3 separate regions of the Homo sapiens genome follow, and all the other regions are linked to region 1. The links are contacts of gene promoters, found by promoter capture Hi-C in blood cells and fetal thymus (Javierre and others, 2016). All regions are on one chromosome and are shown on one strand. The core of a region is centred on a gene start or on the middle of the fragment in contact, and the rest is flanking DNA. Distances in the headings are between cores, read along the strand shown.

Region 1 (3,002 bases), core at 375-2,874:
TGTGTATTTTCCCCCGTCCCTCTCAAAAATTAAGTGAAGCACAGCACATCTGTAGGCTACCTGAGAGGTGCAGCGTGGTTGGTTTTCTTCACAGTTGCTAAACGAAAGGCCTACTCTTCTTCAGTGAGATTTTTTTACTCTCTAGAACAGCAGTATCCATAGAAATATAATGGAAGCCACGTAATTTAAAATTTTCCAAAACATTCTCATTTTGACATGTAAGCAATATAAAATTAATGAAATACTTTACATTCTTTTTCTTTTCAGACCACGCTTTAGAAATCTGGTGCATGTTCTACACTTAGAGCAGACCTCAGTTCAGACTAGCCACTTTTCAGGTGGCCAGTGACTACTACACTGGACAGTTGCAGCTCTAGAAAATCCACTCCCAAACCCCTAAGTGAACTACATACTCTATCAATTTGTAGCTTCTACTCTATCTCATTTGTACCATTGTTTCACAATTTGGATAGCATTAGAGTTAATAAATTTTATTTTAGCAACTCTGCTCCATGGGTAGTTTCTGAAATAAAAATACAAGCAAAAAAAAAAAAACTTTCCTAATAACACTGGTTCTACAGTATAAGCTCTCCCTCGAATGTCTAATAGAGCTTTCGTAGAAGTGAGTGTTCCTTGTAGGAACGGTGAGTCGAGACTGGAGGTAAGAACTAAGACGTTCTTAAACCCTACTACGTGCTGGAATCCTGAAGTGCCTGCCATCATTCAAACTTAAGCACTAACTCTCTAGAGAGACACTGCCATTCATACCACAGAACGAGAAGGCAGTGGCGATCCTCAACGGCTACATGTCACTGCCTGGTGAGCACTCTTCCCTCAGACCCCATTCCCAGAAGCTCTGCCTCGATTCCCCAGGGGTAGGCGAGCTGGCTGCCCGAATTCCTAAGCGTTACCGGGGAGATGTGAGGGCCTCCGGGGGCGGGAAACCTCAGGCCAGGCGCGCGCTGGCCCGCTCTACGGGGTCTCTCGGGAGCGCTTTGCAGGGCGGATGACTGACGGGCCAGCTACCTGCCTTCCTGAGCCTGCAGAGATAAACAGCCTATCCTCCCTGTGCACACAGGCCCCGAGGGCGGGCAGGTCTCCAAGCGCAGCACAACTGCCCCAGGCCCGACGCAGCCACCTGCCCGAGGGCTCCCTCCCCACCAGGCCATCCCTCAGCCGGTCCTCCTCCGACAGCGAACAAGGAACCCCGGAGGCGCGGAGGCGTCTCGCCGCCACCCGGCGGCGCCTGCCAGAGGCCCTTCGCGATGTCCGCAAGCAGAGAAAGCCCTGCCCTCCCAAGCCCCGGCTTCCCCTAGGCCCCTCGACACTTGTAGTGTCCTCACTTGCGGCCCCTGACCCGGGGCTGACCGGTTCGTGACTCTCCTGCCAATCAGAGACAGAGTTCTTCCGGCCAACCGGCCAATCACCGCGCGCGGGTGTCCGCTTCGGCTTTTCGGCCCTTCGGCTCTTCGGCTTGTCGGCGTTCGCGGTTGTTTGGCCATCCAGTGCCTTCAGCAGCGCCGCTAAAGCGCAGTTCTCGTTGGTGTAACTTTTTCTTTTTTTTTTCAGCCACTTCCGGCTCCTGCGTCGCTCCGGAAGCCTGCGAGTTCCGGAAGCCTTGGTAATCCAGATTCGGCTAGGAAAAGACAAGCTTTCCAGAGAATGTTTCAGAGAAAGTTACGTGGAGCGTGGGCGTTTCGCAGACTCCTAAGGTCAGTGTCTGCCCTAGAGAGCCGGAGTGCAAACCCGAGGTCTTGTTTTCAGCTGGGAGGTCGTGGAGTTTCACGACCTTGTAATTGTCGCCGTTTGCTTTTTTTTCCCTGTTTATTGGCTTCCTGTCTCCCTGGAAAAGGCAAATCAAAGCTGCTGAATTTTGGGAAAGGCAGTGAAGCAAACCTAAACTCCTAAAGATGTTTTTAGGATCGCGGCATTAAAAATAAACACACACACAGCTGCAGTTGAGCCCCTCTGCATTCCACGTAGTAACTTAAGAGACGAACTTCGAAATCTTTTTCTCTCATTTGGCGGTCGTGAAGATATTTACCTCTTATAAACGGCTTTATAAAGAATTGAGGATCCAAACTTTACTTAATATCTGAAAGTTCATGTAAAGTGTTATATGTAGTACAAAAAATTTGAGTGCTTAGTTTTCTAACACTGTTGAAAGCGCACGTAAATGCAGTTTGGTTTTCTTATGGAGGAAGAGATAATGAAAAGTTTCTGATAAAATTGCTTGCGATAAATTAGTTATATTTCACGTTGACTTTTGATAAGAAATCTGAATGTGAGAATTGTTAACATTTTTTCCTGGGTTCTTAAATTAAAAATCGTTGTTTGTTTATTTATTGAGGTACCATTTTCCAAATTTCCCACATTTAGTGAAAGGGCTTTTGGCAAAATGAGCAAGCTGTTGAACGTTCAAGTCTAACACATTCTGTTAAACTTCCGTGATGCCCCTCGGAAATATTTTATCTTGACGTTTCGGACAATTAAATGATACTTGGGCGCTCACAACACCGCAGCTTGTAGTCTAAACACCTTCCCCTAAAGTGTTACCTTTACTTAATCCTGAACAGAATGAACTTGGGGTGGCTCTTTTAACTTATCTGATCTCACCTATATTATCAATTACTTGTTTCCAGAAAGATTACAGTTGAGTGATCTTGAGCCAGAAAGAGATTTGAAAGAATTATTTACAGAGTCAAAAAAAAAAACCCTTCATATTTTTTTCTTAAAAAAAAAAATAGAAGTAACAGGACATAGAGCGAATACTAGACTAGTAGACTGAAGAGTATTAGACTAAATCAAGACAGTTGGATTCTAGTCCTGACTCTAGTTGCCTTTGTACAATTTTACCTCTTGGCCGTATTCTCCTTATTTTTAGAAACTAGTGTTAGTACTCAAGCTGGGGTTTTAAAACTGTTCCATAGGAGAACTTGTGTAGAAATTTTCTGGAGCCGTGCAGGGAGAGACAAAGCAAGCCCACCCTCAGGTTTATTTTA
Region 2 (3,002 bases), core at 234-2,733, 4.7 Mb before region 1:
AGTGCACGAAGCCCACTGCTGGATCGCGTGGCTCACACTTACTCTGCTGAGCGCGGGTATGGGGACGCGTAGGTTTGGTCTGGGACTGTTGTCTTTTGGCTTTGCCACTGCGACCTACGGCCAGCTACTTTCCCATACTTTTTTTTACTTATCTGTTACGTAGCTGTCAGGAGGAGTTGGGGGAGGTCAACTCGCCCAACTAGTGTTCACGTGGATGTGTGTCCGGAAGAAGGCCCTTCCTTAGCTTTTATCAAATTCTCAAAGGCATCCTGATCCTCAGATTATTCCACCAAATGGTCATCATGCTCTCCCAGCTCTGTCATTCCCTGATTCTCATTATTATTGTTTGAACAAACATTTACAGATTATTGATTTTGGTGCTTGGACCACATAAGGGTGTAAACTACAGTCTTTTACACGGAAGACCTTTCCAACTAGTAAGCTGCATTTTAGAGAGAATTAGTTAATAATATGGCAATGGGCTCTCCCCATTGCACTGAGAGACCTTGGGATATACCTAGTCCAAGGTGATGTGGCATTGGCTTCAGGATGCCATACACCTTGAAAAGGCAAGTTTTTGAAGCATTAGAACCACACAGACTGCTCAGTCGTTGTTACTAGGTTTCACACACTACATAAGGTAGCAAACAGGTTTAATCTCCCCTTGGAACTTCAGTCATTGGTATCAAGTGCCTGAATTACCGTGTCAAAGACTCTTGAGATTTAGCCCAGTTTCAGTGGAGTTCCATAATTGATTAGTGATTTCTACTGTGGGAATGCGTGATAGGACAGGTGACACAATCCCTTCTAGGTTCTTGTTACTTATAGCCATCTATCTATCTATCTTTCACCACTGGCTGTAATAACAAGCCAGTGTGACTTTTTTCATGTGGAAGCTTAGCCATTTGGGTTTTGACTGTGAATTATGTGTGTCTATGCCTGATCCTTCGCTAGTGAGTCCAATACACATTATATGCCATTCATGACATAGTTCATTTTCCTTTCCAGCTATATATGTCTTTAGTGTCAATAACTGAGATGAGGCCAGGCCTATCTGTTTGGGACTAGTGGAAAGCAGTTAAGATTTAGACTACGTCAAGTGTATATCCTAAATTTTATCTACCTTCTGGAGGGATTGAAGGATGGTATCAGGTGCTGGGAAGTTGTCTTGACTTAACTCTTTCCCCTGGGTCCTTCTGGTTTGCATCTAATACTTGATTATTAAAAGTCGCAAAATATTAAGCATCTCCACCCAGTCACTGCAGTATTGTCCTTTTTTGTTTGTTTGTTTGTTTTGTTTTGAGATGGAGTCTGGCTCTGTCACCCAGGATGGAGTGCAGTGGCGCGATCTCGGCCCTCTGCAACCTCTGCCTCCTGAATTCAAGCGATTCTCCTGCCTCAGCCTCTTGAGTAGCTGGAATTACAGGCATGAACCACCACGCCCAGCTAATTTGTGTGTGTGTGTGTGTGTGTGTGTGTGTGTGTGTGTGTGTGTGTTTTCAGTAGAGATGGGGTTTCGCCATGTTGGCCAGGCTGTTTTCAAACTCTTGACCTCAGGTGATCCGCCCCCCTCGGCCTCCCAAAGTGCTGGGATTACAGGCTTAAGCCACTGTGCCTGGCCCCTTGCAGTACTGTTCTGAGTTGAGTATACTCAAAAGAAGTTAATTGTTGTATTATTCTTATTAATTATAGTTACTGTATTACTATTCTGATCTTTCATATATATCTCATTTGGTTTCTGTAAGTACACTGTGAGGTCGGTGTGGCATACAGCATAGATACAGATATAGATACACATGCATACACACATATACATATATACACAGAAAGGATGTGCTTGTATCTTTATATCTGTCTCTGTATCTACCTGTCTATATCTTTCTATTTTTCTTACCCAATAAAAGAGCTTTGGTTTTGTATATGTTTATTTACATACATATATAGAAACACACACACATATACTTTATACTAACTGTACTATATATTACATCAAATTATATATATTTGAAATACCATAAATCTTATAGGTGTATATATAAATATAAATATATTTGAATATAGTCAAGCTTTGGCGATATATATATATATATGTTGTTCACACACATATATATTAGTACACAGATATAAATATATATATTTATTGGATATATATAAAAATATATATATCCAAAGTTTTACTGTTAAGTAACTTGCCTAGCACTGTTAGATTAGTAAGCAGTGGAATCAGAATTGAATCCCAGGTTTTTCACTCCAAATGCGGAATTTTTGCAGTATACAGTCATCAAAAACAACACCTAGTAAATCTGGGAAACAAAACAAAAAAGAAAAAGAAAACCACTAGAACTTATTTTTGTCTGACTTAGTAAAGTTACAAGTAACATCTATTAATACCTTATGTTAATCCAATTACTTTCTGTCAGTTATTGAAGTTGTGATTAATTTTGTTAGAGTGGTTACATAGTGCTTGCTACACTAGGATATTAGTCAAAATGGGAAGTTTTTCCATAGAGGTTGTCTTCTTGCTTAAGAAAACTAAATCAAAATCAGATACTGACCAGTATATACATTTTCTCTCAATTTTAGATTTTCTTCCATTTGTGTGTGATGATTGTTCAGGAATATTTTGGTAAGTTAAGTTTTTATGCAGGATTTGGGAGTAATTTTAGTGTTTATTAATATGAGGTTATTTCTGAAAAGTAGAATGATTTAAAATAATTGTTACTTTAGCCATTGATTATTGATATTCAGTATAGTTATAGACTCTGATTACTTCTCCATATATATGACTGATTTTTAAACTTCCAAAAGTGGGGTTATGTATGTGAATTTTATATAAAAGTTATATTTTTGTCTTTTAATTACAAGGAGAAAATAATATTCACAATATAAAGAATATGGTAAAGATCCAGTTATAATTATTGCTCTTTATTTTAATTAATAAAATGAAAAGAGCCCAACCTATAAATGCCTTAAAATAGGAATCACAGCATTTGACTACATTA
Region 3 (3,002 bases), core at 350-2,849, 3.0 Mb before region 1:
ATACTTGAGTTTTGCACTTTTCACCCATGCTGGAGTGAAGTGGCAGGAACATAGCTCACTGCAGCCTCAAACTCCTGGGCTCAAGTGATCCTCCTCCATCAGCCTCCCAAGTAGCCGGGACTACAGGCATGCACCACTGCCCCAGGCTGATTTTTCTATTTTTTGGTAGAGACTGGTTCTTGCTATGGCCCAAGCTGGTCTCGGACTCCTCATCTCAAGCAATCCTCCCTCCTCAACCTCACAAAGTGCTGGGATTACAAGTGTAAGCCACCCTGCCCAGTCAGACTGAGGGTTCTTGAAGACCACTGGCCATGCTCTTTACAATTTACCACACTTTCTCCTGAAAAAAAGTGGAAGTAGCACTATCCGTAGAAAATAATGTTCTAGGCAAGAGTCCATTAATAGTCTCGGGAGATAAACAGTTTTAACTGCCAAGAGGGAGAACTCACCTGGAGAATTTAATGAATTTGTAAGGACTACCATACAGTTAGCTAGTAATAATTTTATGTGATTCATACAATTGTGCACCATTCTGAGATCAGTGTACTTCGTGTTCTTAACACTATCTGTACCATTAGAGAGCATCAGAAAAGCTTAAAACCCATAGTCAAGGCATTCTTAAAATAGGGTCTGTGATCATAAAAATTCTTTCTCTCGAAGTACTTGCAAATGAACTGGAAAGGTGTGTGCCCCCAAAATAAAACTAACTGTGGATTAATATTAAACTGCTGGGTCAAAGATAGACGGACAACTAATTAATAAACACTTAAGAATGATGTTAGGCTGTTTTGAACAGGGTGGGTAAATTTTGGGAATTAACACTGCAGGAGAAAAGGGAAAGAAAATCCAGAGTGAGGGTGGGGGCCTACGGCGGTGCAATACTTAGGGACATTCCAAAACTTCTGAACTCCTAAGTTAGATAATAGGTATCTAGAGGTGTCAAAACATTTCAGAAAAACTATTTTTGTGGCGTGAGTGGACTGGCTGCAGAAGTGGCAAAGGACAAACTTGGATGCAGGGTTTGGCAAATGTTGGGTGAGCCCTAATCTGTGCCTGGTGCTAGGGACCCTACAGCAAAGTTCCTCTTTTCAAAGTTTAAAAAGTTGGGAGTAGACACTAAATATTATTAAATATTTAATATTAATATGTGGCATATTAGAAAGTGCTACATGGTACTAAGAAAAACAGGTGCCAGAGAGTCTGCATTTGGGCTTCCACTTCTAAATAGGGTAATCAAGGAGACCCTCATATTTGAGTGAAGACCCCAAACTCGAGTGCTGGCGGCCATGTAGGGGGGACGGCAGGGCGGGAGAACGAGCGTCGCGTTAGCAGAATTTACAGTACAATGGGGTCCAACGGATGCCCAGGAAGGCGAAATTCCTGCAAGTTAAACGCACTTCTAACGCAAAACTTAACCAGGCCCCTTTCCAACTATTTAGCCCACCAATTTTAGCTTAAGTCTCTTCTTCCCCACGCCACTCCCAGATGAAAGGAAGACACGCCTCGTTGGCCTCCAGAGCTCTGCGTCCGGGGGGCGGACCTCTCATAGCTCCGCCCCGTGACCCGCGCGCTTGCGGAGGGGAGGTCAAAGGTCAGAGGTAAAGAAGTCATGGCGGCGCTGTGTCGGACCCGTGCTGTGGCTGCCGAGAGCCATTTTCTGCGAGTGTTTCTCTTCTTCAGGCCCTTTCGGGGTGTAGGCACTGAGAGTGGATCCGAAAGTGGTAGTTCCAATGCCAAGGAGCCTAAGACGCGCGCAGGCGGTTTCGCGAGCGCGTTGGAGCGGCACTCGGAGCTTCTACAGAAGGTGGAGCCCCTACAGAAGGTGGAGCCCGGGCGGGTGAGAGGGAGTCGCGGGAATTACGCCAACGACGCGGTGGGCGGGGTCGGGAATAGGGGCGGAGCCTGGCTTAGGAAGGGGAGCTGAGGTCCGGGGCCCAGTTTTCCGGAGTTGCGGTGCGTTGTGGCTCAGCCCTCGGCCCCTAGAATCTGTGCTTGGTGTTTTTCTTCCTTTCGTTGTCCTTTTGTGTGGCATTTGCGTACTGGGCCGGGTCTGTCCACACTGCGCTTGTTTTCCTGGGATTGAATGCTGGTGGGAAGGTAACCAGCGGGGAGCGCTGCTGGGGAGGCGATCTAGGGCGATTCCTGGGACGCTAAGGAGAATGGGACTCACACGGAGAGGCAGGGCTCTGCTGGGTCTTGTTCTGAACAGTAGCTCTAGCATGGAGCTTGCTGTCTGGAGTAGAAGGCCCTTCATAAACATTTGTTAATTTAATGACTGGGTGATGAATCACTTTCTGAACTTGGGCAAGTGATTTAACTTGTCAGCGCTTCACCTCTCTTTTGTAAATGTCTTCTTTTTTTAAAAAGTAAAGTAAAATCTCCGTTTGTCTCAGCCAGTACTTTTGTAAAATACCATAAATTTATAGATAAATGAAATGGAAGAAATAAAATTACAAGCCTAAGTTTTTAATAATTAAACTCAGCAGACATGAAATTGAATTATATACAAATAAACTCTCAATTTCTGTATTTTTCTTCCTAGGGAGTAGTACCAAACAGTTCACAAGACTGGCAGTGTCCTGGGTTATAGGGTCATTTTAGTAGCAATTACTGATGTCAAAATTTTTCTGAAATCCAAGGACTAGAAGAAGCCTGGTATATTAGTTTATTATTTTCTGTTGTAACAAATTACTACAAATTTAGTGGCGTAAAACACAGGAAATGTGTTGTTGTTAGGGTTGTGAGAAGTCAGACGGGATCTCACTGGTCTAAAATCAAGGTGTTGGTGAAGTTGTGTTCTTTTCCGTAGCTTCTAGGAGAATCTCTTCCTGGCCTGTCTTTTCTGCCTCTGTTTTCTACTTTTTTGTTTTTTGGATTTTTTTGTTTGTTTTGTTGTTTTTTGAGACAGGGTCTCGCTCTGTCACCCACGCTGGAGTGTGGTGGCATGATCTCAGTTCACTGCTAAACCCCCTGGGCTCAAGTGATCCTCCTGCTTCATAGCT

The links. Contacts are between HindIII fragments. The CHiCAGO score rates a contact against its expected background, and 5 or more counts as called.
Region 2: a contact is called between a fragment that was not itself captured here and the fragment with the promoter of PEX2 in region 1, in 3 of 17 cell types (total B cells, non-activated CD4 T cells and naive B cells). The highest score is 10.6, in total B cells.
Region 3: the fragment with the promoter of MRPS28 here is called in contact with the fragment with the promoter of PEX2 in region 1 in 8 of 17 cell types (total CD8 T cells, non-activated CD4 T cells, naive CD8 T cells and 5 more); the score reaches 13.3 in total CD8 T cells.

Annotation. Positions count from the first base shown.
Region 1 is chr8:76,998,700-77,001,701 of GRCh38, reverse strand. It overlaps PEX2 (peroxisomal biogenesis factor 2), which reads left to right and starts at 1,624. Exons shown (of 4, transcript NM_000318.3): 1 at 1,624-1,712. RefSeq lists an enhancer at 1,335-1,629. The HindIII fragment of the contact is 1,935 bases long and covers 1-1,653 here.
Region 2 is chr8:81,717,806-81,720,807 of GRCh38, reverse strand. ZFAND1 (zinc finger AN1-type containing 1) reads left to right here. Exons shown (of 8, transcript NM_024699.3): 2 at 2,584-2,626. Among named protein-coding and RNA genes, the nearest start is that of ZFAND1, 2.0 kb to the left of the region's middle. RefSeq lists a silencer at 1-12 and an enhancer at 1-474. The HindIII fragment of the contact is 1,170 bases long and covers 899-2,068 here.
Region 3 is chr8:80,028,856-80,031,857 of GRCh38, reverse strand. MRPS28 (mitochondrial ribosomal protein S28) reads left to right here and starts at 1,599. Exons shown (of 3, transcript NM_014018.3): 1 at 1,599-1,822. The coding sequence starts at 1,610. All of the region lies in intron 5 of TPD52-MRPS28 (TPD52-MRPS28 readthrough), which reads left to right. It also overlaps a transcript of TPD52 not described here. RefSeq lists an enhancer at 1,447-1,876. The HindIII fragment of the contact is 3,845 bases long and covers 596-3,002 here.